Regions from separate parts of the Homo sapiens genome. Here regions 1, 2 and 4 are each linked to region 3. Evidence: promoter capture Hi-C in 16 types of primary human blood cells and fetal thymus (Javierre and others, 2016). All regions are on one chromosome and are shown on one strand. Each heading gives the region's core, a stretch centred on a gene start or on the middle of the fragment in contact. The rest is flanking DNA. Distances are from core to core; before and after follow the strand shown.

What was found. The method cuts DNA at HindIII sites, captures the fragments that hold promoters and counts their contacts. A CHiCAGO score of 5 or more calls a contact.
Region 1: a contact is called between a fragment that was not itself captured here and the fragment with the promoter of NFAT5 in region 3, in 17 of 17 cell types (megakaryocytes, total B cells, naive B cells and 14 more). The highest score is 26.3, in megakaryocytes.
Region 2: a contact is called between a fragment that was not itself captured here and the fragment with the promoter of NFAT5 in region 3, in 1 of 17 cell types (neutrophils). The highest score is 5.2, in neutrophils.
Region 4: a contact is called between a fragment that was not itself captured here and the fragment with the promoter of NFAT5 in region 3, in 1 of 17 cell types (neutrophils). The highest score is 5.1, in neutrophils.

The regions. Positions count from the first base shown.
Region 1 is chr16:69,399,416-69,402,152 of GRCh38, reverse strand. No RefSeq gene overlaps it. Among named protein-coding and RNA genes, the nearest start is that of TERF2, 15 kb to the right of the region's middle. The HindIII fragment of the contact is 7,123 bases long and covers 1-2,737 here.
Region 2 is chr16:69,747,841-69,750,540 of GRCh38, reverse strand. It overlaps NOB1 (NIN1 (RPN12) binding protein 1 homolog), which reads left to right. Exons shown (of 9, transcript NM_014062.3): 4 at 911-982; 5 at 1,203-1,328; 6 at 1,423-1,623; 7 at 2,212-2,309. Among named protein-coding and RNA genes, the nearest start is that of NOB1, 5.7 kb to the left of the region's middle. The HindIII fragment of the contact is 6,163 bases long and covers 1-2,700 here.
Region 3 is chr16:69,564,638-69,567,337 of GRCh38, reverse strand. It overlaps NFAT5 (nuclear factor of activated T cells 5), which reads right to left and starts at 1,372. Exons shown (of 15, transcript NM_138713.4): 1 at 964-1,372. The coding sequence starts at 1,036. MIR1538 (microRNA 1538) reads left to right here and starts at 1,470; the gene lies at 1,470-1,530. RefSeq lists silencers at 577-886, 907-1,176, 1,471-1,647, 1,367-1,746 and an enhancer at 2,408-2,700. The HindIII fragment of the contact is 15,576 bases long and covers 1-2,700 here.
Region 4 is chr16:69,765,828-69,768,527 of GRCh38, reverse strand. The region is part of intron 1 of WWP2 (WW domain containing E3 ubiquitin protein ligase 2); the gene reads right to left. Among named protein-coding and RNA genes, the nearest start is that of WWP2, 4.8 kb to the right of the region's middle. The HindIII fragment of the contact is 6,474 bases long and covers 1-2,700 here.

The DNA.
Region 1 (2,737 bases), core at 126-2,625, 170 kb after region 3:
TTGAATAACAAATTTATAATTATTCATCTTATTTCACAGTAAGCTACCCCTTTAAAAGTCTACCATTATTTTTTTTGTATTTTTATTAGCATTTAATTACTAGTGAATATATGGTAATACATTCTTCCCTTTTGAAAAAAATTAGAGCATTGCAGACAAAGTTTTGGTTCTCTTTAATCACTCCCCACAACGCCAGTTCCTTTCTCCCTTCCTCTAAAAAAATCACTTCTAGGAGTTTTGAGGCTATCCTCACTGACTTTTCAGTATACTTTTGCATACATATAAATGTACTCATAGAAAATAAACATGTAGTATTTTTACATGCATGTTTTTAAGAAAACAAATTATATTCTATATATTATTCTGCAGTTTGATTCTTTTCACTCAATAATATAATATTGAACACTTTATACGATTATTATAGATAGTCATTCTTTTTTTTTTTTTTTTTTTTTTGAGACAGGGTCTCCCTCTGTCACTCAGGCTGGAGTGCAGTGGCATGGTGTTGGCTCACTGCAACCTCCACCTCCAGGGCACAAGTGACCCTCCTGCCTCAGCCTCCCAAGCAGCTGGTACCACAGTCACATGCCACCATGCCCTGCTAATTTTTGTATTTTTTGCAGAGACAGGGTTTTGTCATGTTCCTCAAACTGGTCTCAAACTCCTGGGCTCAAGCAATCTGCCTGCCTTGGCCTCCCAAAGTGGTGAGGTTATAGGTGTGAGCCACTGTGCCCGGCCCTTTTTAACTTTTATACAATATTCCATTGTGCTTGGCTATTTCTCTTTTGATAGGCATTTAGATTAATTCCAACCTTTGTCTACTATAGACAATGCTTCAGTAAACTTTTTTTTAATTATACTTTAAGTTTTAGGGTACATGTGCACAACGTGCAGGTTTGTTACATATGTATACATGTGCCATGTTGGTGTGCTGCACCCATTAAGTCGTCATTTAACATTAGGTATATCTCCTAATGCTATCCCCCTCCCCCCACCCCACAACAGGTCCTGGTGTGTAATGTTCCCCTTCCTGTGTCCACGTGTTCTCATTGTTCAATTCCCACCTATGAGTGAGAACATGCGGTGTTTGGTTTTTCAGTAAACATTCTTGTACAGTTCTCATTATACACACATACAAGTACCTTATAGTCAATAAACATTCGGTCGTGCAAATAAAAAGTCAATATGCAATCTTAGAATGAGGTTTAGGTACAATGAAACTCTAAATTTACCGTTTAAAAATTGTCATCATCGTGGGCATTTTGCACCTCTGTAGATTATTATGGTGTGGCCCTGAGACTGGGGCTTGTGGAAGAACTGACTGAAGATGTTTCCTTGGCCAGGGAGAGAGAGAGAGAGCTGTAAAACACCCTTGTGAAAGGTAGGGCTGGGATACTCAAGACTGTGCTATCTAACACAGTAGCCACTAGCCACAAGTGGCTATTTAATTTTAAACTTAAGTGTGTTAAAGTTAAATCAAATTAAAAATTCAGTTCCTCAGTTATAGAAGCCACATTTTAAGTGCTCAAAAGCCACATATAATCAGTGGCTACCATATTGAGTGCGAATACAGAACATGTCCATCATTAAAGAAAGTTCTGGCCAGGCGCAGTGGCTTACGCCTGTAACCCCAACACTTTGGGAGGCTGAGACAGGTGGATCACCTGAGGTCAGGAGTTCAAGACCAGCCTGGCCAACATGGTGAAACCCTGTCACTACTAAAAATACAAAAATCAGCCGAGCGTGTTGGCAGGCACCTGTAATCCCAGCTACTCAGGAGGCTGAGGCTGGAGAATCGCTTGAACCTGGGTGGTGGAGGTTGCAGTGAGCCGATATTGTGAATTCAAGTCAGGCTCAGTAGCTCACGTCTGTAACCCCAGAACTTTGGGAGGCCATTTGGAAGATTGAGGCAGGAAGATCACTTGAGCCCAGGAGTTCAAGTCTGCATTGAGCTATGATGGCACCACTGCACTCCAGCTTGGGTGACAGAGTGAGACTGTCTCAAAAAGAAAAAGAAAAAGCAAGTTCTGTGGGACAGTACTACTCCAGAAGTTATTTTATATAGTCCTATCTAGTAGCCAATTTAAAATTTCCTTTCCTGAAATGTAATTACTTCCATTATTACTAAACCTTTGATGAAGTATTTTAAATAATAGTAAGAGCTAACATTTATTGAATGTATGTATTGGTTAGTTTTCTTTGTTGCAGAAAACAGATTTCACTCTTGCTAATTTAAACATAAAAGGATTTATTAAGGGGTATGGATAGCTCATGGACTCATTAGGGAAGTTGAAGAAATAGACACTAGGATAAATATCCAGGAATGACTTTCAAAATTACACTGTGGTTGGGCACAGTGGCTCATGCTTGTAAACCTAGCACTTTGGGGGGCCAAAGCAGGAAGAGCGTTTGAAGCCACTAGTTTGAGGCTGCAGTGAGCTACGATTGCACCACTGCACTCCAGCCTGGGTGACAGAATGAGACCCTGACTCAAAAAAGAAAAGAAAAGAATTGCTAAGCAGCCACCACAGCTGTTGGCTCCAGAATAGCATTGCCTCTGCCCTGACCAGTGCCAGCAAAATGGATGCTTCCTGCTCTGTCTCCCCCTCCACGTGACTCATAGTTATCAAGTCTCACACAGTACAATCCAAATCATAAACAGAACCAGAGCTGCAAGGGTGTTTGAGAAATGTCATATTTAGCTTTCCATCCTCTACAGTCCAGGAAGCAAATCTAG
Region 2 (2,700 bases), core at 163-2,662, 180 kb before region 3:
GTCCTCCTACCTCAGCCTCCCGAGTAGCTGGGACTGTAGGTGTACACCACCATGCCTGGCTAATTTTAAAATTTTTTTATAGAGACAGGGTGTCACTTTTGTCCAGGCTGGTCTCAAAATCCTGGCCCAAAACAATCCTCCTACCTCAGCCTTCCTAAGGGCTGGGAGTTAGTGAGCCACTGCACCCAGCTATTTTTTTATTTTTATTCTCTGATTTTTTTAAAACACTGGATGTCAGCCAGGCTCGGTGGCTCCTGTGTGTAATCCCAGCGCTTTGGGAGGCTGAGATGGGCAGATCACTTGAGGCTGGGAGTTTGAGACCAGCCTGGCCAACATGGCGAAACCCCATCTCTACTAAAAAATACAAAAATCAGTGGGGCATGGTGGCGCACACCTGTAATCCCAGCTACTTGGGAGGCTGAAGCATGAGAATCGCTTGAACCTGGGAGTCGGAGGTTAGGTTGCAGTGAGCCAAGGTTGTGCCACTCCCCTCCGGCCTGGGTGACAGAGCAAGACCCTATCTCAAAAAAAAAAAAAAAATTGGGTATCCTTTTTTTTTTTTGAGACAGAGTCTCATTTTTGTTCCCCAGGCTGGAGTGCAGTGGCGTGATCTCAGCCCACTGCAACCTCCGCCTCCCGGTTTCAAGGAATTCTCCTGCTTCAGCCTCCTGAGTAGCTGGGATTACAGGTGCCTGCCACCACGCCAGGCTAATTTTTGTATTTTTAGTAGAGACAGGGTTTCGCCACGTTGGCCAGGCTGGTCTCCAATTCCTGACCTTGGGTGATCCGCCCACCTCGGCCTCCTAAAGTGCTGGGATTACAGGCATGAGCCATCGTGCCCGGCCAAAAAAAAAAACTGGATATCTTTAATTTTGATAACAAGAGGTATATGTTTTTTGTTTTTTTAAAGGTTAAGGTGAGCTCATCGATTCAGCACCCAGAAACACCTCTGCACATTTCTGGTTTCCATCTGCCCTACAAGGTAATTTCTTAGACAAGCCAGGCCGTTCATGCTCTTTTCTGAAACATGTCACATCTCTCTAAGTCATCTCTTCACAGTGAACTAAATTTACGCGGACCAATAACATAGTTTGTCCAGCCCTGTCTGATCTGACTTGTATATCATATGTGATTTCATCTGTGACCTGAGAGGTGGCTACAGATGAATTTTCAGGTTTTAAAATTGTTTCTTTTAATTTCAGCCTAAACCCCCACAAGAAACAGAAAAAGGACACTCAGCTTGTGAGCCTGAGAACCTGGAATTTAGTTCCTTCATGTTCTGGAGAAACCCTTTGCCCAACATCGATCATGAACTGCAGGAGCTGCTGGTGAGGCCTTGACTTTTGGTCTTCTGACGACAGCTCAACTTCTCCTCCACTGCTCCTGTGGGTTGGGAGTTTGAAAGGTCTGTTGATGTTTCAGATTGACAGAGGTGAGGACGTTCCAAGTGAGGAGGAGGAGGAGGAAGAAAACGGGTTTGAAGACAGAAAAGATGACAGCGATGACGACGGGGGTGGCTGGATAACCCCCAGTAACATCAAGCAGATCCAGCAGGAGCTGGAGCAGTGTGACGTCCCCGAGGACGTGCGGGTTGGCTGCCTGACCACAGACTTCGCCATGCAGGTGGGTAGGGTGGGCCTGGGCCGTGTGTCACACACGTCATCGGCAGTGGTCCTACCGAGGTGTACAGATGTACACGGAACTGGTGCTGTGCAGCGCTTCTTTTCCTGGTTCTGGAAACCACCTGTGCCATTTGGTGATTTTTAATTTTGCTTAGAGGCTAGACAATCGTCATATAATGACAACATTTGTATAGTACATTAAATGTTTAACGTTTACTATTTATGATTTTTTTATGATTTTTTTTTCAGTATATATAATGCCATGTGGTCAGTCAGGTTCTTAACACAGGGAGAGAGGGTTTTCAGCCCAGCAATGAGTATATTTGGCCCAGACAAAATAAAATGTCTGTTGAGAGAGCTTGCTAATGACAGGTCATGGAAAATGACGAACACAGGCTCCAGGACGGTGTTAGAAAGACACCTGGGCCTTCGTCCTCGTTTACACATCTTGAGAGGCCTCCCCAGGCTGAGTTTCCTTCGCAAAAGCCAAGGAATATGGGCAAGGCAGGGTTTGTGAAGTTCCCTTAACTGTAATTACAAAATGAAATGTGAAAAGAAAATTGATTTCTTCTTTAACTTGTGGTTGTAGAATGTTCTGCTGCAGATGGGGCTGCACGTGCTGGCGGTGAACGGCATGCTGATTCGTGAGGCCCGGAGCTACATCTTGCGCTGCCATGGCTGTTTCAAGTATGTAGCTGGTGCCCTGGCCCTGGTGCCCTCTGTGGAACACTCTTCCTGTTTCTTTTTTTGTTTTGAGAAACAGTCTCGCTCTGTCACCTAGGCTGGAGTGCAGTGGTACAATCTCAGCTCACTGCAACCTCTGCCTCCTGGGTTCAAGCAATTCTCCTGCCTCAACCTCCCAAGTAGCTGGAACTAGAGGCACATACCACTGCACCCGACTAATTTAATTTCTGTATGTTTTTAGTAGAGGCGGGGTTTCACCATGTTGGTCAGGCTGGTCTCGAACTCCTGACTCCAAGTGATCCATCCACCTCAGCCTCCCAAAGAGCTGGGGTTACAGGTGTGAGCCACCACGCCTGGCCACTATTCCTGTTTCTTCTACAGACTTGTTTAAAGA
Region 3 (2,700 bases), core at 123-2,622:
CTTGTGGTGTCCAGTAAAGGAATTTCACCTGAGTAGGGATCAGCTCCAGTGCTAATATTTCAGATGCTGGGAATCCCCTGCAGGCCTTAGCCAAAAGAGTTCTTAAATGAAAAGTCTCTGCCTGAGCTCCCTCCCTGCAACCAGCCCTTGAACGGAAAAGCAGAGAAAATTCTCAAAGGACAGCGTCTGTGCCTGGGCTGGTCCTCCTGGGAGAGGAGAGGAATAAAACCAATCCAGAGAGGGCACCCCCATCTTTGTAAAGGAGAAGGGAGAAGTAATTAGAATGCCACGGAGGTGGGAAGAGAAAAAAAAAGAAAAGAAAATTCGGGCCCTTTCCATCGGGCCCTTTCCAGCAAGAAGATGACGAGGAAAGGAAGAACGCCTGGTCGAGGGGGGCTGTCCCAACATGGGGAGGGAGTGGACTAGGCCGGAGGGAGAGGGGGTGGAACGACGGCGCAAAAACAAGCTGGAAAGGGAGGAAAATGGTGACCCTGCACTCAGAACCGGCTCCAGGCCACGCCGCCCGCTTGGGGGCAACTTTGCTGGGGAGGAGGGTCCCGGTAAGAGAAGACGCGGCGCCCCGATCGCGGTGGCCCCAGCGCGGGGCCCAGTCTGGGGCCATCCCCGAGCCCGGGAGGCCGGGGCCGGCGGCTCGCGGAGCCTGGCGGGGCCGGACGGGCTGAGAGCGGCTAGAAGCGACCGGTGCCGCAGAGCCCCGGGGGCCGACGGAATCTGGGCCCCGAGCGGCCGGCGGCTCCGCGGGGGAGGGGCCGCCACTGCTCCGCCCGCCCCCTCCACCGTCACCCCGATCCCTTCGGCCTCTGCCCGCTCCGGCCAAAGAAGCCATGGGGGTCGCGGCTCAGCCGCCCCCGGCGGGACGGGGACCCCTCGCCTCCCCTGGCCCTGTCTCCCTGTCTCCCTGTCTCCCCGCCCCCACGCCCCACCCCCCACAGCCTGACTCACCTCGCGAGTAGAGGGACTTGGGCGATTCCAGGTCTAGGTCCGCGCTGAGCAATGAGATGAAGTCCGAGGGCATCGCAGCTCGACCCAGCCCGGCCCGAGGGCAGCGGGAGGGGGGGAGCGGCGGTGGCGGCGGCACCTCCTCTCCGGGACCGCGGGCACCGAACCGGGGGCGGCGACGCGAGGGCGGCTGCCGCTGCCTCCTCCTCGAGGGTAGTGACTTCCACTGGGCCGAGGACCGAGGAAACGATGGCGAGGTGGAGGGGGAACTCCACGGGGACTGATTCTCGGTGACCAGGAGAGGGGTTCAGGACGGGGAAGGGGAAGGGGGAGAGCCAAAGGGTCCGTTTCGTGTTTCTCCTCAGCGAAAACTGACGGTCGCCGCCACCGCCGCCGCCGCTGACAGGAATCTGAGCCCCGCCCCCGTGGGGCACAGCGCAGGCGCGGAGGGGGGTGCCCGGGAGCGCGGAAGAGCCGTGGCGGCCCCCGGAGGGCGGGGAGGCGCGCCAGGGAACAGCAGCAACATGGGCCTCGCTTCCTGCCGGCGCGGCCCGGGCTGCTGCTGTTCCTGAGCCGGGAAAGGGCCCCGCTGCCAGGGTGGGAGGGGGGGAGGCTGGGAGGTGGCCGCGCGCTGGGGCCCCGGGGAGGGAAAAGGTATTTGCAACGACCTGGTGGCGGCGAGCCTGAGGCGGCCGGCCCCGAGCAGAGCTGAGCGCAGGAGACAGAGCCGAGAGAAGCGAGAGGTCTGCGCGAGCCGGGGACGGACCCCAGAGGCCGGCGGCGGACGGGCCTGGCTGGCCCGGGGTCTCGCAGGGGACCGGAGTGTCATCGCCCGGACAGCCGCCAACCCTTTGGGGTTTGCATAGCAGTGTGTACAAAGGGACTGTCAAACCCATTTCTTAATTAGGAAATGGCAAACCGTATCCCAAAAACCTCGAGTTATTGATTTTTAATTAAAGTACTTTCTCCCCTAACACTCCCCTCCTACCTTTGGAGGCTGAAATTTTTTTTAAAAAAAACGATCTCTCTGATTGTGCTGGGGCATCCGGGTTATTCGGAGTGGGACATAGAAGACAATTAAAAAATTGGATCATGTGAATCCACCTGGCTGTTCTAGAGGAAAAACAGGTAAAAAGCAAACCTCAACGCTACTCTTCCAAACAGTTTTTCTTTTTTCTGTTTCTTTTTTTTTCCTTTTGGACTAGGCAAAGATGGAGGAAGAACGCATTTAACTGAGTTTTTGCTCTTGCTTTTCTGTTCGTGGAGCCAAAAGTTTCCGTTGCAAAAATTTAAAATCCTCACCCACACCGCAGAGCGTTTTCTGATTCTAATAGACTTCTGAGAAATTTTTAATCAAGTTATTGAAATATTACCTGGAGTGCAGGGTGTGCATCTTGGGAAGTAATTTTAATCTTGTGTGGAATATTGATGCCAGTAGCCACGTGGGCATGGTTTTTAAGCTATTCGAATGGTTTCGTTTTTTATCTACAAGGATAGTTACAACTCATGAAAATCAGTCTGTTGTAATATGTGTATGTGTATATATATGCACACATATATATACATACATATATACACACATATATACATATATATATAATTATAGAGACTTTTTCCCATGAAATTGAGCAGTTCTCGGGACTTGGAGTGCTAGGGTTGGGGTAAGAAGCTCTCAGCAAAGGAGGGCCCAGTACAGATGTCGCTGAGGCAAGGCCCTTTACAAAGTTTTACCTGTAGACC
Region 4 (2,700 bases), core at 146-2,645, 200 kb before region 3:
AGCGATTCTCCTGCCTCAGGCTCCCAAGTAGCTGGGATTACAGGTGTCTGCCACCACGCCTAGCTAATTTTTTGTATTTTTAGTAGAGACGGGGTTTCTCCATGTTGGCCAGGCTGGTCTTAAACTCCTGACTTCAGGTGATCTACCCACCTCGGCCTCCTAAAGTGCTGGGATTATAGGTGTGAGCCACCATGCCTGGCTGGTATTTTCCTAATAGTTATTATTAGTAGTAATGATTTAAATCACTGAATATTTGCTATAAACTGCGGTGGGGTGAAAAACAGGGAACTGCAACCTTCTAAAAAGATTTTGGTTAGAATCTAACCTGTCCCATCATCCAGGGGAAACATCTTCCCTTTTGTTCCCATCTTTCAGAAATTCCAGAGCCCTAGCCAGTTGTGGTGGCTCACACCTGTAACCCCAAACACTTTGGGAGGCTGAGGCAGGAGGATCACTTGAGCCCGGAGTTCAAGACCAGTCTGAGTAACATAGTGGGACCCCATCTCTACAAAAAAGTTAAAAATTAGCTAGGCATGGTGGCACATGCCTATAGTCTCAGCTACTTGGAAGGCTAAGATGGGAGGATCACTTGAGCTCAAAAGGTTGAGGCTGCAGTGAGCCATGATCATGCCACTGTACTTCAGCCTGGGTGACAGAATGAGACCTTGTCTCAAAAGCAAAACAAATAAAGAAGAAAGAAAAGAAATTTCAGAGTCCATAATGTGGAGTCCTAATAAGATAAGTAAGCAACAACGAGGAAGGGGCCTCAGGTAGGGGAAAGCCATGGACAGTCGTTCTGAGAAATGATTAATCACAAACAGCCCTCAGATGCATCAATCCCCACATAGCCCCCTCCAGCACAACCCTGTAAAACTTCCCTCCATCTCCTGCCTCTTTGCAGACAGCCCCTTCTCTGCTGTGCTGCCCATTGCTTTCTTGCAACGTGTTTTCACTTTAATAAATCTGCCTTTCTTTACCTGGTAAATTCCCTTTCTGCCTGTGACACATAATAGTCCTAAGGGACTCAAAGTCGCTCAAAAGCAACTCACTGATTTGATTCCAAAGGGAGTTTATGTTTATATAGCCACTCCACCCATCTCACTAATGATAAGTGGTAGAAGGACCAGATGTGGACTCTGAAGACCAAGATTCAAATGGCCATCTCTTTCATTTCTTAGCTATCTGACCTCGTGAGGGTCACTTCACCTCAACAAGGTTAAATGTATAAAATGGTGGGATGCCTGACAAACAACATGCATTCAATACATGTTTGAAAAAACCAATACATATTTCAAACATAAAAAGCCCATTATCCATCCATCCTGGAGGCCTAAACTGGATGCCAACCCAGGAAGCCAGACTAATTCCAGAAATTGGCACTCAAATTGATTTCAGGGGTGCTATAAAGATGCACAGTTGGAAGAGTAGCCTCATTAAGAAAAAAGAAACCCATTAGCTTGTGGTTTTCAAAAAGATTAAAAAAAAAAAAAACAAAACCCCTATTCCAGTACTTTGGGAGGCCGAGGCAGGCAGATCACTTGAGGTCAGGATTTTGAGGCTAGCCTGACCAACCTGGTGAAACCCCATCTCTACTAAAAATACAAAAATTAGTTGGACATAGTGGCAGATGCCTGTAATCCCAGCTACTCAGGAGGCTGAGGCAGGAGAGTCACTTGAACCTGGGAGGTGAAGGTTGCAGTGAGCCAAGATCGTACCATTGCACTCCAGCCTGGGCAACAGAACAACACTCCAAAAATAATAAAGTAAAATATAGGATCCCTAGAAAAGCCTCTCTCTGAAGGTGATGGTTGAGTAAAGATCTGAGGAAGTGAGGGAAGGAAGGGGCCATGTGGCTGAATAGGGGCTTAAGGGTCCAGGCAGAGTTCAAAAGCCCCAAATAAGGAGTACCACTGGCAGGTTTTGGGACCAGTCAGGAGGCCAGTGTGGCTGGAGGGGATTGAGTAAGCAGGAGTGGAGAGAGGAGGTCAGGGTGGTGGTGGGTGTGGGAGGAGAGATCAGGTCATGGAAGGCTTGCAGGCCATTGTAGGGTATTGGTTTTCACTCCAGTTAAGCTGGGACAATTGGAGGGTTTGAGTTGGGCAGTGGAGTGGACAGGATCCACCCTGCCTTTTAACAGACTTGCCCTGGGTCCTGTGTGGAGAAAGTGAAGGCCAGCCAGGGTGGAAGAGGGAGACAAGTTAGGAGGCTGTTGCCATCATCCAGGGGAAAGATGCATCCAGGGTGTACTCTGAAGTACAGCCAGTAGGCTTTGTGGACGAGCTGAGTTGGATGTGGGGTGTGAGAGGAAGAGACGAGTCAAGGGTGACTCCAAGGTCTTTGGCTTGAACAACTGGAGGAATGGAGTTGTCATTAACTGAGATGGGGAAGGCTGTCTGAGGGGCAGGTGTAGGGCTCAATTTTGTTGATGTTGATTATAAAATGCCTGATAGGAATCCACGTGAAGATATTGTGGGCAATTAGATCTAGAAGTCTCGAGACAGGCCTAGGCTAGACACACATATGGAAGCTGTTAGCATGTGGATAGTATTTAGAGTTAAGAGACTGAGCCAGGTGCAATGGTTCATGCCTGTAATCTCAGCACTTTCGGAGGCTGAGGCAGGAGGATGTCTTGAGGCCAAGTGTTCAAGACCAGCCTGGGCAAAAGTGAGAACCCCCGCCCCCAACTCCCCATCTCTCCAA